2 separate regions of the Homo sapiens genome follow, and region 1 is linked to region 2. The links are contacts of gene promoters, found by promoter capture Hi-C in blood cells and fetal thymus (Javierre and others, 2016). All regions are on one chromosome and are shown on one strand. The core of a region is centred on a gene start or on the middle of the fragment in contact, and the rest is flanking DNA. Distances in the headings are between cores, read along the strand shown.

Region 1 (3,867 bases), core at 1,331-3,830, 570 kb before region 2:
TAGCTCATGTATTGGTGTTGACAATATAAACTGGTGAGTAATTTTAGGAAGTAAATCAATGATATGAATCACACCATAAAAATATTCATACTCTTAAAAATAATCCCATTTTTGAGAATATTTCCAAAAAGAAGGCTATATGTTTAAAGGTATTCATTGTAGCATAGTCTTCATAATTACTTTAGAACACTTAAGACTTTTACCATGTTAAATAACCCTGTAGTTTAAAATATAGGCTTATGGGGGAAAAAATAGCAATTTTCAAAATTATATTTACTCTGAATGTAACTGTATAAAAATATGTGTATGGACAAAGACTGGAAAGAAAAAAATAGATGTGGTTAAGTAGTAGAATTCTAGTAGATATTTTTCTCTTAAGTCTGCCTTCTAGATGGGAAATTACATTATGAGTAATTAGCCAAAAACAGGTTTAAGTTCTCAAGGAGTTAAAGTTTTTGTTTCAGCAGGCTAATAAAAATACTGTCTGGTGCTGTATATTGACACAGTTCTTCTGCTAACTTTTGTCTGTGTATTTTTCAGTCAATAAGCAGATAAATGACAAAGAGCGAGTGGCAGCTGCAATGGAAAACCCCAACTTACGGGAAATTGTGGAACAGTGTGTCCTTGAACCTGACTGATAGCTGTTTTAAGAGCCACTGGCCTGTAATTGTTTGATATATTTGTTTAAACTCTTTGTATAATGTCAGAGACTCATGTTTAATACATAGGTGATTTGTACCTCAGAGTATTTTTTAAAGGATTCTTTCCAAGCGAGATTTAATTATAAGGTAGTACCTAATTTGTTCAATGTATAACATTCTCAGGATTTGTAACACTTAAATGATCAGACAGAATAATATTTTCTAGTTATTATGTGCAAGATGAGTTGCTATTTTTCTGATGCTCATTCTGATACAACTATTTTTCGTGTCAAATATCTACTGTGCCCAAATGTACTCAATTTAAATCATTACTCTGTAAAATAAATAAGCAGATGATTCTTATAATGACTCACTGTTTTTATTGAATTGTAAATTCCAGTGTAAATGTCAACTCCTAAAGGATATCTTCAAAGCTTTATTTTTGCTGATTATTTTGTAGAATCAGAGATCTGAGAACCAAAAGGAACCCTTAAGATTGGGCCTTCCTTCCTTCCAAGGAGAGTCCTGGACCCTTTCATAGATAAGGAACAAATGTGGAGAAGGCTAGATGGCATACACAATTTTGAAGATCAAGAAGTCCACCAAAGAAGTTTTGATTAAACCAACCTAAATGTATGGTCCGCACTTTATCTGTCCTTCATTTGGTTTGTTTTAGGGGTTAATGGTCATGTGAAGTATAGTAGCCTCCAACATGGCCCCCAAGATCCTCACTTCCTGGTATTCATGCCCTTGTATAGTTAACTTCCATATTGAATTGGAGCTGATGGGTGTGGCTAATAAAGAATGGCAGAGTGACAATGGGTGACTTCTGAGGCTAGATCATAAAAGGTATTGCTGTTTTCACCTTAGGCTCTTGGATTGCTTATTCTGTAGGAATCCAGCTGCTATGTCACGAGAACTCAAGCCACCCTGTGGAGAATTCCACACGGAGTGCAGCTGAGGCCTCCCAACAACAACCAGCAGCAATTTGCAAACCATGTGAGTGAACTCCTGATGCAGAACTGCCTAGCTCCCAAAGTCTGGACCCAGGCACTGTCTTGGGTGCCAAGGACACAAAGATACATCAGCCATTGTCTGTCCTCCTGGAGTTCATACTTATTAGCCTGGACCTTCAGCTTCTCTCTGCTCCAGGCAGTGAGTGATTCGGACTCAGTTTTATCTACTGCCTGAGCTCGTCCTGGCCAAGTAGAAACAGAAGCCGGGCAGCAGGTCCAAAGACAAAACCATGCCTTAGGGACTGTCTGGTGAGGACACTACTGACATGCAACTCCAAGTGGATCATTGCTACAGGAGTCACCTGAACTGCTGGCCCTGCTGCTCCTGGAAGCTAGATGTGACTTCTGTTGTCTCCGCTACTGCCAGAGTGATTTCTCATTTTTGTGTGACTCACTCCAGCTTCCTAGTCCTAGCTGAGATCTCTAGTCGGCTGATCTCAAGTCACATGTCCATGTCCTGGCTGCCAAGAAGGCGGGAGAAAAGAAAATCTGACCTTTGGTGTGGGGAGGTGGACTCTGTCCCCCCAGCAAGACTCACATGGTGGGAATTCTATAGTAGAGTGAGAGGGGTCAAAAAACTAACATCTACTGCATTAATTATATTAGAACATGAATTTAAACTTTATTAATCATAATGGTATCTACATAGAAGTGAAAAATAGAGGTACATATATAGTCAGAAGTAGTGTTATCTGGTCCATGTTTGGCAAGGGTTAGGAAACGTTTTTGGAAAAGGGCCACATAGGCAATATTTTAGGCTTTTCAAGCCATATGCTCTGTTGTAACTATTCAACTCTGCCCTTGTAGCACAAAAGCAGCTGATAGTCTGTAAACAAATAAGCATGATTGCACTCCAAGAAAACTTTATGGACACAAATTTGAATTTCATATAATTTTCATGTGTCATGAATTAATATTTTCCTTTTTAATTTTTTCAACCGTTTAAAAATATAAAAACCATCTTAGCTTGTGGGTTGTACAAAATTCCAGCATTGGGCTGGATTTGGCCTGTGTGCCATTAGCAAACTCCTGATTTACAAGAATGATTATCCTTTCTGAAAAGTCAGACCAATTGGAAAATCAGATAAAAGATGTGGAATGGGCCCTCTCCCTAGGGAGAAAAAGGCACTCACATGAAACTGCATGTGACTCCAGGACATTCACAGACTTGCTAAGGAGCCAGTGGACCCCGGGTTAATAACTCTGCTTTACAAGTAATGCTAGCTGAGCACTGGGCTCCCCCCTCCTTTAATAACCCCCCAGAGCCCTGAGGGTTCACAACTTTGGGAGTATAGGGGCAGAAGGTGTGATACCTTTCCTCACCCATCATAAAGGTCATGGCCAACACCCCCGTGACAAAAGACAGGGTAACAAGAGAAAAGCATAACAAATGTGGTCAATCCAAGTTTTATGTGACACAGCAGGCTTCAGATAGGAAGAATCCAAAGACCCAGGGAAAACTGTCTTATTTTTCTGCTTAGGTTTGACGAAGAGTGGACAATTGTGTAGAAATGTGATTGGACAAAAAGTGCGATCTAATGGTAATGGACTAAGTGGGGAAACCCAGCAAGGACTATCTCTTCAGATTCTTCTTGGCCTTTCTGTGTAGCATTCCTTCCTCCTGGGTATGGGGCAGTCTTATGACCTACTGTTAGATAAGGCAGGTCAGAGAATTTCTTTATGGCCAGCTCATGCACAGAAAGGCGGGGGAAAGTTAGAGTAATATTTCTAGGTTTTGTGGTTTGCTTTTTGTTGTTGTTACTGTTTTTGTTTTTGAGATGGTCTTGCTCTGTTGCCCAGGCTGGAGTGCAGTGGCACAATCATGGCTCACTGCAGCCTCAACCTCTCAGGCTCAAGTGATCCTCCCACCCCAACTTCCCAAGTAGCTGGGACCACAGGTGCATACCACCATGCCCAGCTAAATTTTTTTTTGTATTTTTTTGTAGAGATGGGACTTTGCCATGTTTCCCAGACTGGTATGGCTTGCTTTGAAAAGAGGTTCTGGTTTCTATTTCCTCCCTTGGGGAAGACAGATTCTGTTTTCTATGACTCCCTTTGGAGGAGGAAGGGGCAGGAGACAGCAGGGCAGGATATGGTCAGAGAGAGTCTTTGCTTTTGAGGCTGCTTCTGAGGCTTTCTATTCTTCTTTAATTCACAGCACACCAAGGAGCCATATTTTGGGTTATTGCTTTCTGAGCCCCAGTAGGAGC
Region 2 (4,045 bases), core at 1-2,500:
TTTCTGAAGTGCACAATTCGAATTGTACGCTATTAATATAACCCAAGATACCAGTGACCATCTCAAAGCTAATAAACAAAGACTAGCGGTGGCACCAGGGCCCTACCAGGAAGTAAGCAAAGCCGTGTGGCCGGTGCGATCCTAAGAAGTCGCTTAGAGCAGACAATGAGAGGGCACTGGGGCTTCCAAGGGGGCCAGCAGGAGTTAAAACGCTTAAGCTACTCAAAAGCCTTATATAAATCTAATAAGTGTTTCACAACACAGGAACTGGGAATCCCAACGCATTTTCGGACAACCCAAAAGGTCTGAAAAACAAACTCGAGCAGTCCCCTCCAAAGCAGCTGTTGGCTCAGCCTCCGAGCTTCTCAGCCCGCAGCCTGTTTTCAAACTTCACCATCCCTGACGGATGAAAGACCCCGACCTCCGCCGCCCGAGCTCCCAGCGCCTCTCGGGGTTTCGAGGTGCCCGAGCCTGCGGAGAAGGGAAAGGAAACCCGGGCCGGGTTCGGCGGAGGAGAGGAGCCCCGCGCGCCCCGCAGCCCAGACAAAGCTGCGCCCGGAGAGCGGCGCTCTTCCCGCCCTGTCTGCGGAGAAGCGCGGCGCGGGCCCCGCCACACGTGCGGCCGCCCCTCGGGGGCCGGACACCCGCCCCACAGGCGACCCCGCAACACGGACGGGCACAGCCCCCGGCCACGGCAGGGCGGGGCAAGGGCGCACGCAGCTGGCCAGGGTCCCCGCCTGCCGCTGCCCCCACGCGCTCGAGGCCTCCGCGGACTCCCGCCCCTCGCGGCCCTCTCCTTCGCTGGCCCGGCCGTCGGGCCTCGGGAAACAAAGGAGCCGCCGCCGCTCCCGCACGCGCCCGCCTCATCGCGTACCCTCCCCAGCCCGCCGGGCCCGGCTCGCCCTCGCCCCTCCCCGAGTCCGCGCGCCGGCCGCCTGCGGCCCCTAGACGGCAGGCCCGGCAGAGCCGCGGCCTCGGGTGCGCTGCGGGGCCGGCCCGTGGCCGCACTCACCGCTGCAGCACCAGGACGACGGGGAGCCGTTGGGGAACTTGGCTGAGTCCGGAGCAATGCAGACGCTGGAGCTCAGGTGTGGACACTCCATGGCCACGAGGAGGGCAGCTGGGAGGACTGCGGCTCCAGGACCCGGCGAGGTGGGGGCGGAGGAACTCCGGAGGCTCCGTCTGGTGTCGCTTCTAGCCGGGCGCTCGGCCGACGGCGGCTGCGTCTCGAGCCCTTGCGTCAAAGAAAGCACGGGCTTCCGGACGCCGGGTTTTCTCGCCCGCCGTCTCCCGGCGCCCCGCTCCGTAGAACGTGTAACTCCGAGATCCGGGTTCTGCAGCCACCCCTAGACTGGAGGCTTCCGCCTTTCCAGGCCGGCCCCTCCCCGCCCCGCCCCCGGGTCCGCCCCCGCCCAGCCCGCGGGGTGGGGTCCCGGCGAGCTCCAGCTGGTGGCGCAGAGTCCGGCTGTGTTCCGAAGTGACTTTCCTAGTCACGCCGCTTCCCCGGCCCCGGGAAGGGTGGGGCGCCGAGCAGGGCACCCCGGGCCGTCCGCGGCGTTTCCTGCGGTGGGCGGAGGATACTGAACCTATGTGGTGCGGACTACTCGGTGGCTTCGTGGTAAAAATCCGGCCGCTCCGCAAAGTGTAAAGAAGAACTTTAAAACCTCTCGGGCAGACAGGCACCGTGGCCCTCATTTTATACACGAAGAAACAAGCTGGGGAGGCCAAGGGCCTGGCCCCGGGGGAGGCGGGCAGCGGGTTTCATGGGTGCCAGGGCAGTCCCGCCCGACTTAGCGTTAGGCTCCTTGCGGCAGGTGCGATCCGTAGCCCTTTCTAGGTTCTGAACACGTGGCGTTAGCCAGCCACCTAGATGCTGCGTGGGTGGGCCCGCAGGGGCGCCCATGAACCCACGTTCAAATCCTGTCACTGTGACTCACCATCTGCGTTACCTCCAGCACATCGTAGGACTTTCAAGCCAGGAAGTTCAAGTGAGATAAACGTAGCCTGGGATTGCTGGGCAAGCTAAACTCCCCATTACCAGGCGATAAGAAGGGAAGGGATCTAGCATTTGTTAGATACCTAAGGTCTCCCAGCCAGGCACTTCCCATACCGCATTTAAGCCTCGCAACACCCTACCAGCTGTTACCATCCCCTTTTTACCGCAGGGGGAAACCGAGTCTGTAACTTGTTGATCTGTATGGAGATTGGATCCCTGACCCTCTGACCTCTTTTTAGTGAGGGATTAGAGAAGAGGGCAAGCCTCAAGGGGCCGCTTGGGCCGGCATACCCTGGATCGAGCCTGCGATCTCACTGGGGCACTTGAGGACGTCCGGGGCTATTACAAATATTGCTTCCAAGTTGGGGCTCCTTGTAAAACCCGGCGAAGGAGCCTCGGGGCCAGAAGGCGAGCAGGAGGAGGGGGAAGACTGATGTGGCAATCCTGCGGCCAGAGCGAGAGGAGGAAGGAAGGTCAGGAAATGATTAACCGGGCCGGGCAGTGGTTAGAGCCGGGCACCTCCCCGCAATGCAGTCCTAGAGCAGCCAGGGACGCCCCGTCAATCACTTCTTACTCCTCCCTACCTCCCACGCCACAAGTCGGCCTCTTCCGCATAGACCTCTGCCTAATGGTATCCACCCACCGGGGGCACCTCTGCTCATCCTTTCCCCAGAAGTATTTCTGGGTCCTCAAAGATCTGTCCTTTTCCAAGTGGTATTTGCTGTTAGAGCAAGCCTCGGCCTGGGATTTTTATGGCAGTGATGCGTTGTGGAAAGTGCGTCTGCCTAGGAAGGCAGGCCGGCATGCTTTCAAATCTTAGCTCTGCTGCCTACTTGACGGCCAGGCTTAGCAAGCGTCTCTAGCCGTTCCAAGCCTTTTCTAGATCTGTAAAACTGGAAGAAGAATACTTGTCTCGCAAGGAACATGTGAGAATTCATGAAAATTGCCACCACATACTAGGTGGCCAATAAATTATAACTTTGTATTTGTTTTTACTGACACTAGATGAGAGCTGCTTCCCTGGGAAGCGGGAGGAGGAGAAACAATAATATCTGCCCTTGGCTCAAGTTCTTCCACCCATCTCTCCATGTCAACCTATTTGTCTTTAAGGCCTTGCTCCACCAACCTTCTGTTTCCTCCGGACACCCACCCCCACTTAGCATCCATAACCCCTTGTTCGGCCCTGGAGCATGACCTCACTCAGGCCATGCTTCATACTGGTATGTAATATTTCTTCACCCTCTCAGAGACTCCGTTTCCTAATCCCCTAGACTTCAGTTTAAACATCACTTCCTGAGGGAGTCTTTCCCGACCCTTTCCCACCCGCAGGGTACCTCCCAGTGTGTGATGTCCTTGTCTGCCCCAACACCGGCTTTTAAAAACACTTAAAACAAAAAACAAAACAAAAAAAAAAACAGTGTCTCCTATATTGCCCAGGCTGGTCTCGAAATCCTGGGCTCAAGAGATCCTCCCGCCTAGGCCTCCCAAAGTGCTAGGATTACGGGCATGAGTCACCGCGCCCGGCCTAAAAACACTCTTCATGCGTGTAATTATTTGTTTAATGTCTCTCTTCCTCTTGTTTGTCCATAAGGTAGCAAACAAGTCTGTCTGGTTTTCTGCTTTATTTCTAACATGCAATGTAGAACATGGAGGATGTCTGATAAGTAAGTGAATACATGACATGAACGGGTGAGTGTGCGGTATGTTAGCCATGTCTACCATGGGCAAGAGCCTAGCAGGTGGCCCAATATTTGCCAATATTTGACCCCTAGAGATGATCTCTAAATTTCCTTTCAGTTCTAGCTTTATGATTTTAACGGAATCAGGAATGTGAAAGTGCTTTGTAAGGTGTAAGCTATTTTAAGGGAAAAAAAAGTTTCCATTAGTGACTTCTCTCCCCAGCTAGAATAAAAACCCTTGGGAGCAGGGGCCCTAATTTAGTCCCGATTGTGATAGTCCCCAGAGGGCAAGCTCTATCAGGCAGTCCAGAGAAGTTGGGCAAAATCAGAGAGGCCCTCCTGGGGCGTTTGCTAGATTTCCCTAAAATAG

Evidence for each region. The method cuts DNA at HindIII sites, captures the fragments that hold promoters and counts their contacts. A CHiCAGO score of 5 or more calls a contact.
Region 1: a contact is called between a fragment that was not itself captured here and the fragment with the promoter of USP3 in region 2, in 14 of 17 cell types (non-activated CD4 T cells, naive CD8 T cells, endothelial precursors and 11 more). The highest score is 11.0, in non-activated CD4 T cells.

Annotation. Positions count from the first base shown.
Region 1 is chr15:64,069,702-64,073,568 of GRCh38, reverse strand. It overlaps CIAO2A (cytosolic iron-sulfur assembly component 2A), which reads left to right. Exons shown (of 5, transcript NM_032231.7): 5 at 541-1,004. The coding sequence ends at 638. Among named protein-coding and RNA genes, the nearest start is that of CIAO2A, 22 kb to the left of the region's middle. The HindIII fragment of the contact is 3,006 bases long and covers 1,078-3,867 here.
Region 2 is chr15:63,501,798-63,505,842 of GRCh38, reverse strand. It overlaps USP3 (ubiquitin specific peptidase 3), which reads right to left and starts at 1,250. Exons shown (of 15, transcript NM_006537.4): 1 at 1,013-1,250. The coding sequence starts at 1,103. RefSeq lists silencers at 439-518, 589-788, 859-968, 1,319-1,658 and enhancers at 1,384-2,176, 2,649-2,698, 2,177-2,970. The HindIII fragment of the contact is 11,052 bases long and covers 1-4,045 here.